Linked DNA regions of Homo sapiens: regions 1, 3, 4 and 5 are each linked to region 2. The links are contacts of gene promoters, found by promoter capture Hi-C in blood cells and fetal thymus (Javierre and others, 2016). All regions are on one chromosome and are shown on one strand. The core of a region is centred on a gene start or on the middle of the fragment in contact, and the rest is flanking DNA. Distances in the headings are between cores, read along the strand shown. Region 1 overlaps CLTC (clathrin heavy chain). Region 2 holds the start of YPEL2 (yippee like 2). Region 3 overlaps PTRH2 (peptidyl-tRNA hydrolase 2). Region 4 overlaps VMP1 (vacuole membrane protein 1). Region 5 overlaps CLTC (clathrin heavy chain).

Evidence for each region. The method cuts DNA at HindIII sites, captures the fragments that hold promoters and counts their contacts. A CHiCAGO score of 5 or more calls a contact.
Region 1: a contact is called between a fragment that was not itself captured here and the fragment with the promoter of YPEL2 in region 2, in 4 of 17 cell types (M1 macrophages, endothelial precursors, M2 macrophages and 1 more). The highest score is 9.2, in M1 macrophages.
Region 3: a contact is called between a fragment that was not itself captured here and the fragment with the promoter of YPEL2 in region 2, in 1 of 17 cell types (endothelial precursors). The highest score is 5.3, in endothelial precursors.
Region 4: a contact is called between a fragment that was not itself captured here and the fragment with the promoter of YPEL2 in region 2, in 1 of 17 cell types (endothelial precursors). The highest score is 5.4, in endothelial precursors.
Region 5: a fragment that was not itself captured here is called in contact with the fragment with the promoter of YPEL2 in region 2 in 3 of 17 cell types (M1 macrophages, M0 macrophages and M2 macrophages); the score reaches 8.7 in M1 macrophages.

Annotation. Positions count from the first base shown.
Region 1 is chr17:59,644,755-59,649,286 of GRCh38, reverse strand. It overlaps CLTC (clathrin heavy chain), which reads right to left. Exons shown (of 32, transcript NM_004859.4): 3 at 1,621-1,889; 4 at 886-1,047. Among named protein-coding and RNA genes, the nearest start is that of CLTC, 27 kb to the right of the region's middle. The HindIII fragment of the contact is 880 bases long and covers 2,550-3,429 here.
Region 2 is chr17:59,330,035-59,334,583 of GRCh38, reverse strand. YPEL2 (yippee like 2) reads right to left here and starts at 2,929. Exons shown (of 5, transcript NM_001005404.4): 1 at 2,760-2,929. RefSeq lists an enhancer at 1,872-2,433 and a silencer at 2,644-3,163. The HindIII fragment of the contact is 8,765 bases long and covers 1,771-4,549 here.
Region 3 is chr17:59,700,473-59,704,663 of GRCh38, reverse strand. The region is part of intron 1 of PTRH2 (peptidyl-tRNA hydrolase 2); the gene reads left to right. Among named protein-coding and RNA genes, the nearest start is that of PTRH2, 4.9 kb to the left of the region's middle. RefSeq lists enhancers at 375-878, 879-1,383. The HindIII fragment of the contact is 1,147 bases long and covers 1,900-3,046 here.
Region 4 is chr17:59,723,136-59,727,714 of GRCh38, reverse strand. All of the region lies in intron 1 of VMP1 (vacuole membrane protein 1), which reads right to left. Among named protein-coding and RNA genes, the nearest start is that of VMP1, 18 kb to the right of the region's middle. The HindIII fragment of the contact is 1,296 bases long and covers 833-2,128 here.
Region 5 is chr17:59,625,337-59,629,239 of GRCh38, reverse strand. All of the region lies in intron 1 of CLTC (clathrin heavy chain), which reads right to left. Among named protein-coding and RNA genes, the nearest start is that of CLTC, 7.4 kb to the right of the region's middle. The HindIII fragment of the contact is 1,137 bases long and covers 1,313-2,449 here.

The DNA of each region.
Region 1 (4,532 bases), core at 1,740-4,239, 310 kb before region 2:
CCTCAGAGTTCTGTGGAATAGTTGTTGGCTGGGACCCTGACCACTGCTCATTTTCCATTATTTCTCCTCATTTCCCAGTCTTGGTTTTACAGCCTCCCCAGCTGTTGTAAACTATCCAATATCCTTCACTAAACAGACCATTGCTCTAATCAACCAGACCTTGTTTCTATTACCTGCAACTAAGTCTAATATACAAAGTACTACAATCTGTCCAGGCGATTCCAATGTGTAGTCATGGTTGAAAACCTCTAACTTAAGTCAGTGTTATTCACCTGTAGTCTACATTGCCTCTATATCAAGCCATATAAGGTATTTAAAATGCAGATTATATTGGGAGACCAAGGCGGGAGGATCACTTGGACCCAGAGGTTTGAGACCAGCCTGGGCAGTATAGTGAGACCCTGTCTCTACAAAAATACAAAATTTAGCCAGGCATGGTGGCACATGCCTGTAGTCCCAGCTACTCGGGAGGCTGAGACAGAGGGATCACTTGAGCCCAGAAGGTCGAGGCTGCAGTGAGCCCATGACTGCGCCACTGCACTCCAGCCTGGGCAACAGAGTGACACCCTGTCTCAAAAAGCAACAAATAAACAAAAAAAATTATAGGCAACACCTACTAAATCAAACTCTCTAGATGTACAGCATATAAATGTGCACTTTAGCAATCAAAGAATATAAACAGCCAACAGAACGAGTTGTGAAAGAACATTATTCATTTTAGACAAGTATCACTAGATGCAAAATTTGAACAAATTAAGTCACCACAAATGTGAATACTAAAATTACTTAGGAAGGGAGAAGGCTATTTTGAAATTAGATGACTAATTCATAGCAGAAAGCCAAATACAAGTTCTCATTAAAATAATTACCAAAGCCAAAACTTACCTTCCCTCCAGCTTGGCCCCGAACTGCAAAACAAAATAACGTTGATTCTTCTGCATTTCCTTCCATCTTAAACTGTGCAAAGCTAGCTGCATGTCCTTCAATGGGCTGAGACACTTTCCTATCTACAGAATATAGCTGCATAGCTCCCACCACACGATTTTGCTATAAAGGATCAAAGAGAATAACGTTTGAAGACCCATAAATCAAAAACTCTCAGATTCATCAAGTAATGAAATAATTAGAATGCTTTGTCATCTTTAGCAGGATTTATAATTATTTGTCACTTCATCTCTCACTGTAGATTTGATACTTCTTAACTTAAAATCAGCCCCAAACATTATCTTGTTAAAGCCTAACATAAATGTTTAAAATATGCCTCATATACGTCTTAAACAAAAAGGTATAGAAGCATTCATTCTGCAGTAAATACTCCATAATAAATCCCAAATCATTCTTACAGAAACTCAATTTCTACTCAATCTCCACAGAAGAGCTAAAAACGCTTGGTAAGAGCATTCTGAAATTATATGTCAGTATAGCAAGGGAGCGAGGAAGAAGAGAAGGGAGGGAGGAAGGAGAAGAGAAGGGATGGGAGGAAGGAAAAAAAAAGTCTTCCAAAATAAGTGAAATTCAACAGGATTGAGTATAGAAAGACCTAATTTCAAAATCAAACTGCATTCTGGGCACAACCGTGTTCTAAACCTCTTCTTCATAAAAAAATAGTTAAAATGTTACCTGTGCAGATATACCAGTCAGAAGTAACCACTTTTGTTTTGCATCTGTACGGTAATTGATAATCTGGCACCCTGCAAGGCTAGAATGGCGATCAAACATTTTCACTGGCTGAGACTCTCCTTCCATACTCCAGTGATAAACTGCATTATCCGTAACAAGAGCAACCGTATTCAAAGAGATCCATTTCCAAAAGGTGACATCATCAGTCATGGTATGAGCCTTCATTTTACTTTTCATTTCAATGTTAAAAATCTGAAGAGTTTTCCCAGCTAAAAACAAAATCAAGAATTATAAATCATTAAAAGAGTAAAGTTTAGAATGAATACCTACCTAGACTAGCTCTGTCACTTCCAAACAAAAATAGTTCTATTACGAGACGAGTTGCATCGATACAGCAGCAACCATTAAAGAGGTAACAGCTAAGACTAAGCAAACAATCTACATCTACGTTTTAAGCAAAAACTACATTACCTCTAATAAACACACTTTAAACAGATAGTATGACTTCCATGGAATTCTAAATCCCAACTGAAAATAAGCCTAATGAATAGTTTTCTTAACAATAATTGAAAACAAAGCTGTCACCTTCATACTTGTAATTAAGTATGTTTACTTTACACATAAACTTAGTTGCATGTACACAAGACAAAGCAACTCTGATAACAAACACATGGGGGAAAGAAAATGTATTTTTTTAAAGGCAGTCATCTCTCATCTAAATAAATCTTGTGGAAACTGCTTTTTAAAAAGAGGATCTGCTTCAATTCTGTCTTGTTGCCACTAGCACGTAAGAGAAGTGCCTGCTACATTTAACCGGCTTAAGATAACAAAGGGAAGGTAGAGGTGCTGGAGGAAAGGAGAGGGAGACAAAGGAAGAGGATAGTTTCAGATGCTGTTAATATACTGGAGATAAGAACAAAGTGCAAGCTTCATCCAATTAAGAAAGCAAGCATTTAGTTAAAAAAGGATGAAATTTGCCTTGAGTGTTAAGAGTCCACTGAGTCAGATGCAAAGGCTTGTACTTGTAGTTTGAAATCCATCAGTTCAAAATGTGATTTGGTATAAATTAATAGAGGCCAAAGCCTACAACTATCACTAGGCTATCAAGATTAGTCTTTAAAGACTAAGAAAAACACCATTCCTGAGACACAGAGAATCTGGCTCCTGAAGGACCAAAATTTTAAGATTCGGGTGCTGGGGGGACAAAGAAGGGGGGCAAAACATACAGCTTTGTACTACAACCCTCCGTAACACATGTGCAAAAATTTCTTTCATAAAATGAAGAATGTTATTCCCATCCCACACAGTATGTAAACCACAACCAGACTTGAAAAATTGTGAGAGTTACAGTCCTGTTTATAAAAAGAAGCCAAGGGGTTCAAAACTGGCTTCAGAGGGAAGCAGTATTTTGGAATGACTTACTTTCCTTTGCTGCCTTCCTCAACTCCCAGATTATTAGGGGTTGGAATATATACATAAGTGGGGTGGTCTTGGGGAGGGGGACAAGGGATGACAGCTTGACTCCATAGTGCAGACATATAGGGACAAATCTATGATGTTATTGTACAATGCTCCGAAAATCTTTTCAATTTATTCTTTTTATAGAACAGGACAATAACTAATACAATCTAATTTAAGATAACTCACCATCTGCACACATAAGAAAGCATTAAGAAATGTGATAAGATAACAATAACATTAAAAATAGAAAAGAATTTTGGCAAAATTAAAATGATGGCCTTTTAATAGAGAGGCATGGGAATTGCTAAGGACCTGAATTTAAATTCTTTAAAGAGTCTGAAGGAAGCTTAATACCCTAAATAGAAGTAATAGAAGTAAAACACTTACTGTCACAAAACATCTGGTCCTATGTGAAAGCTGGACCATTTTTCCTCGAGATGAGATGAGTTTCTATCTTAGATATGTGATAGTGACTTATTTGTTTGAATATCCTAGTCCTACCCAACCCTATTCACTCTCCAACTAGTATTATTACTATATACAAAGTTTAAATCATGTAAAGAAAAGTCAAAGTTCAGCACCTCTAATAACTTAGTCACAAATTTATCAACAAATTACTGCGAACTTGAACTCTTCTTTCTTCTATCAAAATGAAAAACAAAGCAGGCAATCGAATGCCTTTTTAAGAGTCAGTTTGTCACCGAGCCCTCTTAAAAACATCTGTTTTAAAGGGTCAATTAGTCTCATTCTAAAGTTCAAAGGAATACAGCTTCCGTGACAGTCTAAGAGTCTTTGAACTCTGTTTAGACTTAAGCTGCACAGTTCCCTTGTTGGGACAATTAAAAAGTTAGTCTGAATAAACTCAAATACCCTTCACTCAAGAGCTTTAATATCCACCTAAATACAAACACACTTTAAACAATTACTGTAAATTCAAGCCATTTCTAGAACCCAATAATCTAAGTGAAACACAAGCCCGAAGTATAAAAAAAAAAGCACAGAATCAAAGGCAAGTTTATCATCATAACAAAATTCTGCAATGTTTAGGTGCTAATATTAGTAAAGTATGTTCTATTCCAGAATATGAATCACTAATTTCTTTCCTCTGTAGAGAGATATGTTTAGCACAGTTTTATACCAGATACAAAATTTAAATGCATTTATTCTAAAACTTAAAATTATTCTAAGTAGATATATGTTAAGACATTCCACAGATACATTCCAAGTAAAAGTAATTAAAGTGGTTTAAATCAAGTTCGGTATTAGCAGATCTATTTTCTTTAACCAAACTTAATCAATATACTTAAAAAGGTAAACCCTAGTTATTGTACTTGCATAAATACATAGGAAGAGCTGGCTGGGCGTGGTGGCTCACGCCTGTAATCTCAGCACTCTGGGAGGCCGAGGCAGGCGGATCATGAGGTTAGGAGTTCGAGACCAGCCTGGCCAAC
Region 2 (4,549 bases), core at 1,680-4,179:
GTGTGTGTGTGTTTGTGCCTGAAGGCAGATAACAGCATCAGAAACTGGATGCCTAACAAGATTCGCCTGCACACAGGGACTGGGCCATCACAATGGGAAGTAACCAGGACTGGGGTAGCCCAGGAGGTATGGGAACTTGTGCCTCTTATTAAGACCTGATGGTAGACAAACTCCTGACTCCTCACCCCCCCCCAAATAAAAAGAGTCACCTGCCTGCCTTCCCCCGAGGCTATGCAGTCTGGAATACACGGATACTAAACAAAATCAACCTCTTCTTCAGCTGGCCAATTGTGAATCTCCCAGGCACAATGACTGTGTGGCTGCCTCAAAACCGTGAAAATCATTACGACAATGAAGAATTCACATAATCTATGAACAGCACAGCAACTCACGCAACTCATCGGCACTACTCACATCTCCAACCCCCACACACCTAGAAACATCTCCTGGTACACAACACTGTGCAGCAGCCCTCAAACAGGCTGGAGTGGAGAGGGAGGGATACCAGTCTCTTAAAGCCAACTGCTTCATGGCAGTTGAGAACAAACAATACTGTGCCCTTAGACTTTTCAAAGCCTAAGCTAGTGTGATTGGCAGCTGAGTGATTTTGGGATTGCAGAGTATGGGGTCACATACCTGACTGCACTTCAGAGCCAAGTTAATACCTTTCATTGTTCACTGCCTCCAGTTCCCACTAGATCAGGGGCTCTTATCAAGCACCTGCATCACAATCTCATAGGTCCCCTGGTAAAAATGCAGATTCCTGTGGCCCACTGAAAATAAACATCTGCGGAGTAGCCTGACAAACTATTTTTAAACACTACCCAGGTCATCTTTATACACATTTAAGTTTGAGGACCTCTGCCTTAAAGCGATGCTTCTCAAACTATGGGTCAGGACCTGCTTGGTCAGGAAATCAAATTAATGGGTCATAACCAGCAGTTGATTTTTTTAAATGAAGTAGAAAAAAAAACCTTTAAAACAGAGCACACTGCAGGGAGTAAGGGTAATTATTGTTCTCTGAAACTTATTTCAGTTACAGACCTGTATGCAGTGCAGGTCCCACTCAAAGTCTGAAAACCATGCTCCTAGAGGGAAGAAGGAAAACAGTTTTCTCGCGCATGGTGTTTATTTTCCATTTTCCACCCCTAACTCTAAGCTTCTTGATTTTGGTTCAAGCACAGAAATATCAAGACAGATCCAAGAAATGCTGTCATTGAATGCTAACCTGCGGCGGCAAAGCCCAACTGAGGAAGCGGATGAGGCTCCCACTGCACTCCTGCCTGAGATCCTATCATGGAGCTGGGGACAGGGGATGGTGCCAAGGGGGAAGTCTGCACAGCTCTCCCCAGGCTGGGCCTGTTTCTGGGGAAAAGAACTTGCAGCCACTCAAAACACAGTTTAGAAGAATGAAAATGTTCCTCACCGGAGGCAAGACTCAGCCATTCATAGGCCCTGTGGCCCCCAGAGGCAGGAAAGCACGGGGGAGCAATAACCATGTGAAATCAAGTCCCACCCCAGAGCCAGTGAGGCGGTTTACTGAACTTCTTGCATCTTTAATGCTCTGTGAGGCACAGGGAAGCTGACCGCTACCCTTCTTGCCCAATGCTTTGGAACAAGGAAGAACAAGGAAGGAAGGGCAGGGAGGAAAAGACAGCTGTCTCGTTAGCCTTCAGATTCACCAAAGGCAAGGACTCACTCAAGAGCCTCCCAAGTTGCAAGGACAGCAAATCAGCAAGGAGGCCAGAAAGCAAAAACCCCAGCAAAGCTTCGGAGCAGTTCTCTGGGGCCTTTCACAGCGGCGGGACTGGGGGGCGGGCGAGGGTGCAGCTCCGCTCCAAGCGGAGGAAAACAAGACACTCGCTCACCTGGCTTTTTAAACTCTCGCAGCTAAGACTGAAGGCAGAGGTAGCAATCTTCCGGACAAGAAGTCCAGAAGAACAGGTGTCCCCCACCCCCGCACGCCCCCAAGACCGGAGAAAAGCCCACCACTCCGGGAAAGACACCAGAGGAGGTCGGCGGCCAAGCAGGGTGAACTGGAAGTGGCGAAAGGTCGGGGCCGCCCCTAAGCGCCAGCTCCGGGGAGGCGCTCGCGGCAGAGGCTCCCGCGTTCCGTCGGGCAGGACCTCGCGCCCACCCCCTTGGCAAGGACACCGGGGAGGCGCCGAGACGCGGCCAGGGAGGAACTCGGCTGCGGTTACCTCGACCCGGGTCGGGGCAGACGACGCGCTCCGAGAAATTTCGAGGGCGCCCAGTCCCACAGTGGAAGGCCCCCAGGGCGGCGCCCCTGGACCTAAGTGTCCCCAGGACTCTCCGAGGGAAACGCGGCGTCACGAGAGGACGGAGGGCGTCCCCAGCCCCACCCGGACCCCATGGAGTCCGAACCCATGGGGACGACGCGGAGGAGGAAGCGGCGATTCCAGCTCCGCACCCCCGCCCCAAACCTGGCCCCGCAGACTCGCCCAGCCCCTGGCGCGCGTCTCCCGCCCCGGCCGGGGGTCCCGCGCCCTTGGGCTCCCTCCGCGAGCGGCCGCGGGCCCGGCAGTGTTTGTAAACAAACCGGTCACGTGGCCCGGCGGCCGCTCCCCGTCCCCGGCGCCCACGGGGACCCCACGCGGAACCGAGGGCGCCGCACCCCCAACCCCGCGCAGGCCCGGCCGGGGGAGTCCGGAGGCCGGGGCCGGGGACCCAGAGCCCGAGCTGACAGCGCGCCCCACGCCCACGCGCGCCCGGCCCGCGCCGCACTCCGGTGCACTTACCCGGCGACAGGCGGCCCTGTCCGGCCAGCGTGGGGCTTGGCTCCGCTGGGGTGCGCAGCGGCGAAGCGCGGCCCGGCTGGGGCTCGGGCTCCCGGCACGCTCTTAAAGCCACAGTCTCCGCCACCGCCGCGGCCGCCACTCCGCATCCCTCCGGGTCCGGGCCGGGGGCTACCCCGTGATGGACGCGCCCCCGCACCTATCCCCTCGGCTCAGCACATAGCAACACGCCGCGGGTTGGCCGGGCGCAGCCGCAGCCCATCCGCGCAGAGCCAATCATCAGAGGACGGAACTCCGCCCCCCGCTTCCCCGACCGCCCACTCCCCCACCCCTCGGCCCGGCCCAGCCTGGGCTAGGGGAGAGCGGCTGGTTAGGGTCCCGCCCGTCCCGGCAACTTGCCGGAGGGCAGGGACCCAGAGTGCCAAAGCTGGGTGGGCTCTCAGCGCCTAGGAGGAGGCCGTTTATTTGAGTTTGGGGTTTGTCCCCAGGGCAGGGCTGGGATTCCCAGAACCTGGGTTGTATTTTGGGGCGGGGGGATTTGCAGTGCATCTCCCTGGAGGCTCAAGATAGTCATTCCTTTCTTACGTTTTAAACCTCGCCCTAAGCCATAGCCTAAGTTACCAGAAGTGGCCCTCAGGCCCCGGGTAATTGAATTTAAAATGATAGGGGGGAGGGGGGAGGGATAGCATTAGGAGATACACCTAATGCTAAATGACGAGTTAATGGGTGCAGCACACCAACATGGCACATGTATACATATGTAACAAACCTGCACATTGTGCACATGTACCCTAAAACTTAAAGTATAATAATAATAAAATTAAAAGAAAATGATAGTGCTAGTTGCACCCAGCCCACCCATGCCTTGCTCAGAAGCCAGGCATTTCCCCTCTTCTCTCTGCCCTGCTAGTAATTTCGGCGAATTAAAAGTACGAAAGGGGCTTAGTGGAATTGAAGACCGCCCCATTGCTGCTAATTTTCCATGACTTTCAGAGGCAGATGACGGTAATTAGAGTGGGATGGTCCGAGTGACCAGAGGGGAGGAGTCCACGTTCTGGGTCACCGGGGTGGTGCTTTTCAAGGAAGAGCAGGTTAAAAAATAACCTCGTGGCAGTCAGGAAACCAGGGAGGCACCAGGTGGGTGGAGTGGGGCAGTTTCCCAGCAGGAAAACAGGACAGTTTGATAAAGAATGTTGGCACGGACAAGGTGAACAAAGCAGGTCCTGCCTTTCGCTCAAGACACTGGGGTTCCGCAGTTCCTCTGGGAACTCTTCCTCCAAGGAAACTAGTGTTTTACTGTGCAGCCATCAGGATGTGAGGTGCTGCAGGAGGTGCAGCTGACTCTCCGCCTTCCACACACTGGTTTGCACGTACACCCAGAATGCTGGCTCACCTGCATCTCCACCCAGCTGTTTTTAAAATATGCTTGGTCAACCAAATTGTATTCAGTTAATATCTATTGCATGTGAATCCAGTCACCAAGGTTAGTAAAAACAACAAAACACCCCAAATACCTCAGTATTGTGGGGCTGACATATCAGCCTCAGATTTGCAGTTTCAGTGTAAACAAAGGCTATGTCCTGGTTCACAACTGACTAGTTTGGAGAGTCTAAAACGGGGGGGGGGGGGGAATGCTTTCAGATGAGAGGAATCACAAACAAGAACTGTTTAGCATTTAATCCTTAATCTAAGATGTGATGGATTCTTTAGATTAGTAAGAGCTTGCCGTCTCGCCCTGATCTGCTTCTTGAGCAAGTTTCTTTGTCTCTCCAGGCCTAGGTTTCCACAGTTTA
Region 3 (4,191 bases), core at 1,224-3,723, 370 kb before region 2:
ACAGCTTACCCTATGTGACCCTCCTACTCCTGGCCACTCCATGTCAGTCTCCTTTGATTCCTAATGTTCATTTCCTCAGGATTATGTTTTAGTCCTTTCTTCATTCTACATATTTGTCCAAGTGGCCTCATACTCTTCCATCTCTTCAGTAACTTCAATTATATGGTAAGGTCTCTCAAATCTATATTTCCAGCCCAGACCTTTCTGACTTTAAACTGATATATCCTAGACCTTTCTGTCCTTTAAGCTGATATATCCTTTTTTTTCTTCTTTCTAGATATCTCTGAGATGTCTTTTGTTCAGAACAAAACTAATTCATTATCTTTTCCATTCAAACCTGGTATTTCACCAAAATTCTCCATTTGTTCAAATCTAGCTGTCATTATTAACTTCTCCCTTTCTTTTGCCACCAGACTTCCTGTCAGTCACTAAATCAGACAGGTGTACCTTAGACACTTTTTTTATTTCTCATTCCCACTACTGTTGTCTAAATGACCATCATCTCATCTAGACTGCTGGGAGAGGCCTGATATAGTAATGTTAAGAACAAGGGCTCGGCAGGGCATGGTGGCTCACGCCTGCAATCCCAGCACTTTGGGAGGTCGAGGTGGGTGGATCACCTGAGGTCAGGAGCTCGAGACTAGCCTGGCCAACATGGTGAAACCCCATCTCTACTAAAAATACAAAAATTAGCCGGGTGTGGTAGCACATGCCTGAAGTCCCACCTACTTGGGAGGCTGAGGCAGGAGAAGCACTTGAACCCCAGAGGTGGAGGTTGCAGTGAACCAAGATTGCACCACTGCACTCCAGCCTGGCAATAGAGTGAGACTCCGTCTCCAAAAAAAAGAACAAGGGCTCGGCAGGGCATGGTGGCTCACGCCCGTAATCCCAGCACTTTGGGAGGCCGAGGTGGCTGGATCACCTGAGATCAGGAGTTTGAGACCAGCCTGGCCAACCTGGTGAAACCCCGTCTCTACTAAAAATACAAACAATTAGCTCGGTGTAGTGGCGGGTGTCTGTAATCCCAGCTATTTGGGAGGCTGAGGCAGGAGAATCACTTGAACCCAGGAGGCAGAGGTTGCAGTGAGCCGAGATTGTGCCATTGCACTCCAGCATGGGAGACAAGAACAAGACTCTGTCTCAAAAAGAAAAAAGAACAAGGGCTCTGGATTAAGACGACCACTTATGAGCTGGGTGAATTTAGGCAAGCTATAACTTGTGTACCTCATTTTTCTACATCCGAAAAATGGGGATCATAATTATATATAGATGCTTCTCAACTTAGGGTGGGGTTATATCCTGATAAACCCATCATAAATTGAAAGTACCATAAATTGAGAGCCAGGCACAGTGGCTCATGCCTGTAAATGTAGCTACATGGGAGGCTGAGGTGGGAGGGATCATATGAGGCCCAGAGTTCGAGACCAGCCTGGGCAACATAATGAAACCCCTGTGTCTTAAAAAAAAAAGTTTTTTTTTAAATTAGCAGTGTGTGGTGGTATGTGCTTGTAGTCCCAGCTACTGGGGAGGTTGAAGTGGGAGGATTGCTTGAGCTCAGGAGTTCGAGGCTGCAGTGAGCTATGATCACTCCACTGTATTCCAGCCTGGACAAAAGAGTGAAACCCTGTCTCTTAGAAAAGGAAATAGAAGTTGGAAATAAATTTAATACACCTAACCTACCAAACATGGTAGTTTAGCCTAGCCTACCTTAAAGGTGCTCAGAACACTTAATTTATTAGCGTACAATAGGGCAAAATCATCTAACATAAGGCCTACAAGTGTTGAATATCTCATGTAATTCGTTGAATACTGTACTGAAGGTGAAAAACAGAATGTTTGTATGGGTAAAGTTTCTACTGAATATGTGTTGCTTTTGAACCATTGTAAAGCCAAAAAGCTTAAGCGAAACTACAGTAAGTCCATGACCAGCTCTATTTACCTTGAAGTGCTGTTAGGCACATTAAAGAAGACAATTCCTATAGAGTGTTTAGCCAGTGTGTAGCAGAACACTTCATAAATGTTAACTATTACTACATTATAGCAGCCTCTGAAATGATCTCCCTGTATCTATTGCCAACTGCTAGTCAAGGCTCAGGTATCTTTTAGAACAGGCGTCCCTGTGGCCTGTTAGGAACTGGGCCGCACAGCAGGAGGTGAGTGGTGGGCAACTGAGTGAAGTTTTATCTGTATTTGCAGCCACTCCCCATCGCTAACATTACCTCCTGAGCTCCGTCTAATTAGCGACAGCATTAGATTCTCATGCGAGTGTGAACCCTGTTATGAACTGCCCATGCGAGGGATCTGTGTTGTGTACTTCTTATGAGAATCTAATGTCTGATGATCTGTTACTGCCTCCCATCTCACCCCCGATGGGACTGTCAAACACCTTTTTATAACATTTACCAGTCTTGCAATTATTTGTCTTCACTACTTATCTATGAACAGCTGACAGTGGCCCATATTCATCACTATATCCTCAGCTTAACAGGGTGTATGGCTGGCACATAGATAGCCAGTAAACATTTGTTTTATTGAACTTAACTTCTCTTGGTCTGAATTTCTTCATTTTTGATATGGCAGTAATCCTCACTTCTCAGTGGATCAAATAACAATACATGTCAAAGTATTGTGGAAATTTTGAGCTATAAAGACAAAGTTTTGGCCGAGCACAGTGGCTCACACCTGTAATCCCAGCACTTTGGGAGGCCGAGGTGGGCGGATCACGAGGTCAGGAGATTGAGACCATCCTGGCTAACACGGTGAAACCCTGTCTCTACTAAAAATACAAAAAAAAAAAAAAAAAATTAGCCGGGTGTGATGGTGGGTGCCTGTAGGGAGGCTGAGGCAGGAGAATGGCATGAACCCGGGAGGCGGAGCTGGCAGTGAGCTGAGATCGCGCCACTGCATGCTAGCCTGGGCGACAGAGCGAGACTCCATCTCAAATAGACAAACAAACAAACAAAAAAACCCCAAAGTTTTAAAACAGCATGAAAGAAATTCAAAATTAGGATTGGACCATTTCAAAACCATTGCTAAAATGTAAGCTTCATTAGAGAAAGGACTTTTTCTGCTTTGTGCACTCCTGTATCCCTTAGATTCTAGAACAGGGTCAATCAGTATTTGTGGAAGGGAAGCAGTATATCATAAAACTAAAAGAATTGAAAAAGTAGAAAGTAGTCACACTTCTATTTCAGATACCCATTCCTATAGCTATGTTCTTTGTAATTGTTCGTCTCCAAAATCAAAACCCTATGCATCGCTCTAAGTCTTTCCAGTTTACTTTCATTACACCTGTTCTTCAACAGCATGTCTAGATAAATAGCATGCATCACTTTATTGTCCATAAATCAGTCTTTGATAATACAGGTTGCTTTTTATCAGGTAGGCCAAAAGAGAAAAATGTAATAACACAGGTTGCATGGTCTATCATGTCAAACATTCTTACCCTTATCCTAAATTCCCTTGTACCACTGTGTCTTGGGGCGTGCTCCTGGCATAATTTAAACTTGGATACATCCAACTACCATTTCAGTAGGAGGGGAGAGCAAAGGATGAGTGTGGATGGAGGTTAGTTTGTATGTCTGGAGGAAGTGATTAGTAGTTTTAGTCTTTTGGCTTCTAAGTACTACTGGAGAAAATCACAAATAGTATGTTGCCATTAAAAAGTCATCATTAATCTTAACCATGCTTTCAATATTCCTCTGCAATCCTGCCATATTTTGCCACACCTTTTATTTCCGCCTTTCTCTTCTCTACTCCATTTTAACTTCTGTCTGAGCTCCTTCCCTCAGGGGGAATACTTTCCTGCCTTCAAATCCGTGGACCTACTTGATTTAAAACTGAAATTGGGAAAGGTGTCCCTTTTCCTTTCCAAAACCACATCCCTTTATAAAGTCTTTCTCTATCTTGAGCATTTACCTGCCTTTCTTCTGGCTTCATCCTATTAACATTTAAATATGCTTATCCTTTCTTCTTAGGAGAAAAAAAAAATTGCTTTCCTCTGTGTCGCCTTATATCCATTGCTTTTTCTTTTTGCTCTATCTCTTGACCCCACCTCAAACGAATTTCTGCCCCACCAAAGACAGTAACCCCTTTTATGTTAAAATTAGTGGAAAGAATGTTAATATAATGCCCTAACTTTAAAGAAGAACATAAAGGAAATTTATAAGTACTTCCAGGGCTGTCATCTAT
Region 4 (4,579 bases), core at 231-2,730, 390 kb before region 2:
CTATAAAAAACAACTTCACAGCACATGCCTCATTGTTATTGTATCAGTGATGCCAGTGTTGTTCATTCAGCTCTCATTTTAAAAGTTCGGGGGTCTCCAATGGGCACTGAGGATACAAATATTAATAGGATAAGGAGGTCCCTGTCCTCAAGAGGATCACAGTCTGGTAAAGAAGCCAAATGAACACAAGAAATCAATTATAACAGAATGGGATGAAATAGGCATTTTAATAAAATTAGATGAAAAGACAATGTTTTAGTCAGGTCTTAAGAGTCTAACAGGGCCAGGCATGATGGCTCACGCCTGTAATCCCAGCATTTTCGAAGGCTGAGGCGGGCAGATCACGAGGTCAGGAGATCGAGACCACCCTGGCTGACACGGTGAAAGCCTGTCTCTACTAAAAATACGAAAAAATAGCCAGGCATGGTGGCGGGCGCCTATAGTCCCAACTACTCTGGAGGCTGAGGCAGGAGAACGGCATGAACCCAGGAGGCAAAGCTTGTGGTAAGCGGAGATCGCGCCACTGCACTCCAGCATGGGCGAGACAGAGCAAGACTCCGTCTCAAAAAAAAACAAAAAAAAACAAAAAGTCTAACAGACTGGAGAAATTTGTAAATCTCTCTAAACATCAGTTTTTCTTAATTTGTAAAACAGAGATAACATGACACACATCAGAGGGTTGAGGATTAAACAAGATAATGTACATAAAATACTAACATATTGCCTCACCTTTCACGTGACCTCAATATATACTAGCTATTATGAAGATCGTGAAGTAGAAAGCACTATCGGAGCTCACAGGACAAAATATTCAGACCAGTTCATAGAAGCTTAAAGTTTGACTCTGCAAACTTAAGTCATACTTGTGTGAAGATTCAGCCAAAAGATAATGTAGCCCAAGCAATTACAAAACAATAACAACAAAAACCAAAGATGCTAGAGCATCACAATAGGTTTACAAAATGGAAATCTATTTCACAAATCTGAATTTTATTAATAAAAAAATCAACTGAGGATGTTTGAAATGGAACCATATAAAAAAGTTAATGATTTTCCATCTGCCAGTCATTTAACTTGAAGCTATACTTAAGTTCTGCAAATACTTAAAACTATGTGGGTTTGGCCAGGTGTGGTGGCTCATGCCTGTAATCCCAGCACTTTGGGAGGCTGAGGCGGGCAGATCACCCGAGGTCAGGAGTTCGAGACCAGCCTGGCCAACATGGCGAAACCCCGTCTCTACTAAAAATACATAAATTAGCTGGGTGTGGTGGCTTGCGCCTGTAATCCCAGCTACTCGGGAGGCTGAGGCAGGAGAATCGCTTGAACCCAGGAGGTGGAGGTCGCAGGGAGCCGAGATTGCACCACTGCACTCCAGCCTGGACAACAGAGCAGGACTCCATCTCAAAAAAAACAAAAAAAAAAACAAAAAAAACTATGTGTGTTCATATTCAGCCAAATCCTATAGGCAATATCTTTTAAAAAATATTTTGAAGATATTTAAACATTTGTAAATATCTAAATATATGATAAATATTTACAAATAAGATATTTAAGGATATTTAAGATATTTTAAAGCCAGCCATTCATCTCTATCACAGTAAGTAAAATTTATTTAATTTGTGATGAAAAGATAAACAGGGCACAAAAAGGTTTGCCTTATAAATAACATTCTAAAACCTTTCTCCTACAAAACACTGATAATTGAACTCATTTGCCCCTATTTACTCTTTCCCATAGTGTCATTGTTTTACCCAAAACATTTTGGGTCTATGAGTGCGTACTTATAACAATGGTATTGCACAATTATTTGAAGGTTTTGTTTTTAAGCTATTGCAACAGGGGTTTTCATTTGAGCAAATAATGTGCTCTTACACAACGTGCTAAAAAAGAACAGCATACTGACATTTCCTTCTCCAAAATTCTCTCTGGAAAACATAATAGTCTGAAATTTTGTTTTGTAAGAAATAACCCAGGGAACTAAGTTATTTTCATCAGTCTATTTCTTCATAAACAAAATAAATTTGCAGTTTAAAAAACAACTTTTCAAAACCTTCTTGCCATTCCCAAAAGAAGGAAATATAGCATAAGGCCAAACAAGAGAGCCACTGAGGTTCTAAACAGTTAAGCTTATAAAAGCATCAAAACCCTTTTTTTTTTTTTTTTGGCATTTTGACCATTTAGCATGATTTAAAACCATCCCAAGTATGAAACAGCCAAAATAAAAGACCCACTAGTGTTTTAATAGTTAAGCTTATAAAAACTTCAAAGCTTTTCTGCATTTTAACCATTTTCTAAAGGATTTAACATTTTTCCTTGCCTTTCAAAATTCCCTTGAAAACATCCTCACTTTGCCTCTTCTTCCCCCAATCATACGTACTGTAAAACTTTGTAAAACTGCAGTGCCTCCAGAATCATCTGCATTCTTATGATCTGTCTAAGAAGCTGAACATAACTGAAGAAAATCACACAATTACAAAGCCACTTCAAATTCTTAATTCAACAAATATATACCAACGGTCCATTATGTGCCAGTTATTATTATTATTATCATTATTATTTTGAGACAGTCTCGCTGTGTTGCCCAGGCTGGAGTGCAGTGGCACAATCTCGGCTCACTGCAACCTCTGCTTCCCAGGTTCAAGTGATTCTCCTGTCTCAGCCTCCCAAGTAGCTGGGACTACAGGCACCCACTACCACACCTGGCTAATTTTTGTTGTTTTTTTTGTTTTTTGTTTTTGTTTTTTTTTTTGAGACAGAGTCTCATTCTGTCGCCCAGGCTGGAGTGCAGTGGCACCATCTCGGCTCACTGCAAGCTCCACCTCCCGGGTTCATGCCATTCTCCTGCCTCAGCCTCCCGAGTAGCTGGGACTACAGGCGCCCGCCACCAGGCCCGGCTAATTTTTTTGTATTTTTAGTAGAGACGTGGTTTCACTGTGTTAGCCAGGATGGTCTCCATCTCCTGACCTCGTGATCAGCCACCTCGGCCTCCCAAAGTGCTGGGATTACAGGCGTGAGCCACCGTGCCCTGCCTATTATTATTTTTGAGACAAAGTTTCACTCTGTTACGAAGGCTGGCGTGCAATAGCACAATATTGGCTCACTGCAACCTCTGCCTCCCGGATTCAAACAATCCTCCTGTCTCAGCCTCCCAAGTAGCTGGGACTACATGTGTGCACCACCACGACAGGCTAATTTTTATAGAGATGGGGTTTCGCCATGTTGTCCAGGCTGGCCTCAAACTCCTGGGCTCAAGTGATCTGCCCATCTCAGCCTCCCAAAGTACTGGGATTACAGGCTTGAGACACTGTGCCTAGCCCAGTTATTAAGATGCCAAAGCTCAAACCTAAAATTGATGATTCCTGCTAATAAACTTTTTTTTTACTTTGACAACTATTTCATTCTTTGTTTTTGCTCCCAAAACGTTTTACCCTCCTTTTTCCTTTCTTATTTTCAGACATTGACTTTCTTTTTTCTTTTTCTTTTCTTTCTTTTTTTTTTTTTTTGAGACAGGGTCTCACTCTGTCCCCCGGGCTGGAGTGCAGTGGTGCAATCATGGCTTACTGCACCCTCGACCTCCTGGGTTCAAGTGATCCTCCCACTTCAGCCTCCCGAGCAGCTGGAACTACAGGAACATGCTAACATGTCCAGCTAATTTTTGTATTTTTAGTAGAGACTGGGTTTCCCCATTTTGCCCATGCTGGTCTTGAACTCCTGGGCTCAAGTGATCCCCCTGCCTTGGCCTCCCAAAGTGCTGGGATTACAGGCATGAACCATATCCAGCCCTGTTACATTTTTTTAAATAACAAAAGCAGTGAGAGAATTCACCAATCCCACTACTATTAAGCCTACTAAAATATTTACACTTCACCCATGTCAGCATTTTTCTCTCTTTATGACTTGGCAGTGTCCTCTACTTACCAAAGGCCATTATGTCAATATATATATATCATTTCCTTCCTCCTTCTCAGGGACTTTGCTCCTTCTGTTCTCACTGTGTAATCAATCTTTACCCCTTTATTCTCACCAGAAAATTAAGTACTCAGTATTTCCCATTTTTCATTCCTTCTTCATAAACAGTGCTCAAAAGAGTTGCCGACATATACAGGCTCCACTTACTCATCATCAAATTTCTGCCTGATCCATTGTGATATGACTTCTGCTCCGACAAATAAAAATAAATTGCTTTTGTGAAGATTATCGATTACCTCCATTTGCCAAATCCAAAGGACATGTCTTACTGAATCTCTTACCTTCGCTGAACACAAGTATCCACTCCCTATTTCTTGAAATACTTTCATTTTTCCTCCTATTTCTCTGACGGCTCCCCCTGCTCTATGTCCTGGGGTTCTTCAAAGCCTGGTCCTAGATTCCTTTTTATGTTCCTTTATATTCTCTCCCTAATGATGTCACCTATTCACTCAGCCTTAAATACCCTCTACATACTGACAATTCTTTCTTTCAAAGGCAAAATGATGTTGCCATACTGCTTTATGAAAGTGCTTTATGAATATGCTGTAAGAATAATTAGAATCACAGAAGGAACTTTAGAGAATATCAAGCCTATTCTACTTATTCACAG
Region 5 (3,903 bases), core at 632-3,131, 300 kb before region 2:
AAAATAAAGAAACCTGCCTTAGATTTTCATAGTTCAATATGACCAAATATAGAATATTGCAGAGACTGGAGAAAGAGATGGGTTTTTGTAAACCATGTTCTCTCTACACGTTTTTCCCCCTTATTATTCATCTTTAAATAATGAGATCTATCCAAAGTCAGCTGTTTGCCAAGCAGAGCATATATACTGACAGTCTTTAGCTTCAGTCTGTCCACTTTGGTGGTTTTTTTTAAGCCACCTTTCTCAGATGAGCAGCTAATCAGAAATAAATGCAAGTTGGCCAGGCACGATGGCTCACGCCTGTAATCCCAGCACTTTGGGAAGCTGAGGAGGGTAGATTATTTGAGGTCAGGAGTTTGAGACCAGCCTGGCCAACATGGTGAAACCCCATCTCTACTAAAAATACAAAAAAAATTCGCCAGGCCTGGTGGCGGGCCCCTGTAGTCCCAGCTACTCAGGAGGCTGAGGCAGGAGAATTGCTTGAACCTGGGAGGCGGAAGTTGCAGTGAACCAAGATTGCACCACCGTACTCCAGCCTGGGCAACAGAGTCAACTCCCAATCCAATTCTCGTTTTTTCGTCTTCTATGACTCCCAGTTTCAACCTAGGGTCATGAAAAACTGTCATCCCTGAGACCCCCAGTGTGCATCACTGAGGAACTCCAGAAATCGACGGATGCAGAAAATGAGAAATTAGAGAGTCTGGTGTAACTTCAAGATCTTGGCTTCAATAACTGGGTAGATGGTAGTTTTTCTCCTTTAGTACGGCACATATATTCAACTCAAGTGGACAAAGGGAAACTCTTCCAGGGTGGAGGGGAAGAACTAATATTCGAGTGCCTGTAAGGGGTTAAGGGGCTAAATATTATACTACAAATACAAAAACATACTGTAGTCTAACTTTAAAATTGCCAGGAAATATTGTTTTAATAAATGAGGAAGTTGAGACAAGTTGAAAACCTGACATAATCAATAGATAAGCCCAGATTAAACATCTGAGACATTTTCCAGAATAGCACACTGCAGAGTTTTTTAATGTGACAAAATATGGCTTTAATGGATCTGGTTCCTATTCTTTCAGCAATAATCTTTAAAACCGTCTTACTTCAGAACTTGAAGAAAATCCTTATTTACCTAAGGATTAGGAACAAGAAGTATTAACAGTACTGGCAGTCTGCCTCCAAAGCACAACCCTACAAGTCTGTAACCATTTTCCTTTCTACCATGATGCTACTCAAAATGAGCAAATATATTCCATTGTCACCTTCATTTCCTATCCCTTTCATGCACAACTGCCTTCGTTGAGTTCAAGCTTCTATTTCTTGGCATAAACACAAAAACATGAATTTACAGTAAAATAGAAAGCAGAAGTTTCCTCCTTTCACAAGTGGCTTCAGACTGGAACACACTCATTCTTTTCAGTAAGAAAAAGTCTATAGAAAAGTGTGACAAGTTCAGTCTTATGAGAGGGATGCAGACAATCCTGGTTACAAGTTAACCGGATCCCAATCATCCTGCACAATTTTCCAATAGGAAACAGGATAAAGTCCTTAAAAAAGATACAGCTAAATAATCATTCAAGGCATAAAGTCAGATGTTAGTTTGCTGTCTCCTACTTTTCTCATAATATAAAAAATATTTCACGATAAACAAACGACAGTACTACTAGAATCAAAGAACATCACAGCATAGATATAAACAATTGTGGTACATTTTGCAATTCAAATGATACAGACCATTTACCAAATGAGGCAATGAGCCAAATGAAAGAATAAATATTAAAAGTCTGACTGCTCACTAGCTGTGTGACTCTAAAAGTTACCTACTATGAACTTCAGTTGCCCAATCTCTACAATAAGGCTAATCTGACCTAAGCACAAGGGTTCTCTTGCTAATTAAATGAGATAATAAACATTAAATATTTAATACAGTTCTTGGCACGTAATAGGTGCTCAAACAACTATAATGGCCCATGTATTTTGATTTTATGGATTAGATTACAGGACAATTAAGATTTGAATAGTTACTGCCTCAAAAATAGGACAAGGCTTGGTGTCTCACACTTGTAATTTCAGCACTTTGGGAGGCTGTGGCAGGTGGACTGCTTGAGCCCGGGATTTTGAGACCATCCTGGGAAACATGGCAAAACCCCGACTCTACAAAAAAAATACAAAAATTAGCCGGGTTTGGTGGCGCACGCCTGTAGTCCCAGCTATTTAGGGAGCAGAGGTGGGAGGATTACCTAAGCCCAGGGAGGTCAAGGCTGCAGTGAGCCTTGATCATGCCACTGCACTCCAGCCTGGGCAACAGAGTGAGACCCTGTCCCCACCCCCCAAAAAAAGTAGGACAAAAATATCTTAAATTATGTCTTAATTTAAGGAGATAATACAAAAGAAGAGACTCACAAAAGTCTGACAGATGGGTTTTGCATAACACATTTAGGTCCAAGCTTTCAGCCATCTTTTGAGTTAAGAGCATTAGCCATAGGCACTTAACCAAGAAGCAAAGACAAGACACCCAGAGCTGTAAACTTTGCTGTGGCTCAGAAGACAGGTTTATTTCATGAAGTAGTTTTGGCATGGCATATAGTGCATGAACTTAGAGAAACAGCCTCATTCTAATATACAGGACTAAAATATCAGCCATGAACCTACTGCTCATCTAAGTGAGAAGATTCACTTCAACACTACCACCCTAAAAAAGGACACATACAACACATACAATAACTCTAACAATCGCCTGACCGGCATTCCATATGGGTATTTTATCCGATATGATTCATTAAGTTTTTTTTTCAAATATGTCTGTTCAAGGAACCCTAATTTAAAATGTACCAGTGGCACACAATGAGACTCGTGGAACATAATAAAAGATTTATTTAAAAGTTTCTTTTTGGGGGGCAGTTTCAGAGTGTAATCAACTTTGTATCATATCAATATTTGTATTAAACTGTGCACAATATCAAATGTTCGAACACATAAAAGATCCACAATCAAGTAGACAACATCAATGGTTGGAATAACAAGTGTACAGCCTTTGCCAACTCATCAATGGAAGCATGAATGCAAGGTGTAGTCCATCTTGTTTACCACCTTGTCCCTAGAGTCTAACACAGTTCCTCATCTGCAGTAAGTACTCAAATCTTAGGTAAATGTGTTAACCCCAAATACTTATACACCATAAAACACTGGATCTGTAAATGAATATTGTGTCATTGGTTGAGATACCTGAATAAAATGTACTGGACAAAAATTATTTAGCCAATAATTAATGCTCCTAAAATGCTACGTAAAGTACTTTCACATACATGATCTCAGATCCTCATAATAACTTTGTGAGATAAGTATGCCCATTTCCCAGAGAAAAAAAAGCAAGAGGTTAGACTTAACCTGTGTTGTCCAATATGGTAACCACAAGTCACAACCTACATACCATAATGAGCACTTGAAATGTGGTTACCGTAATTTTAAAGTAATTAAAATTAAATAATAACCAGTAAGTGATTCAATTACTGGAAAACTTAAGTATGTTTGGGATCACTGAAGTATTGCATATCTGCTTTCCTTTTTCTTCATTTTTGTTTGTTTAATATAGAGACGAGGTCTTAACTCTGTTACCCAGGCTGGTCTTGAATTCCTGGGCTCAAACAATGCTCCTACCTTGGCTCACAAAGTGCTGAGTTTACAGGCATGAGCCACTACCCCCAGCCCCAAATCTGCCTTTCTAACTGTAAATTTTATGAACTCTAAATACGGACCAGGATTTCCAAAGAAAATAGGGTCTGAATTGATATATGCTCTAAGTACAAAATATACATAGCCGGGCACGGTGGCTCACACCTGTAATCCTAACACTTCGGGAGGCCGAGGCAGGCATTTCACGAGGTCAAGAGATTGAGACCATCC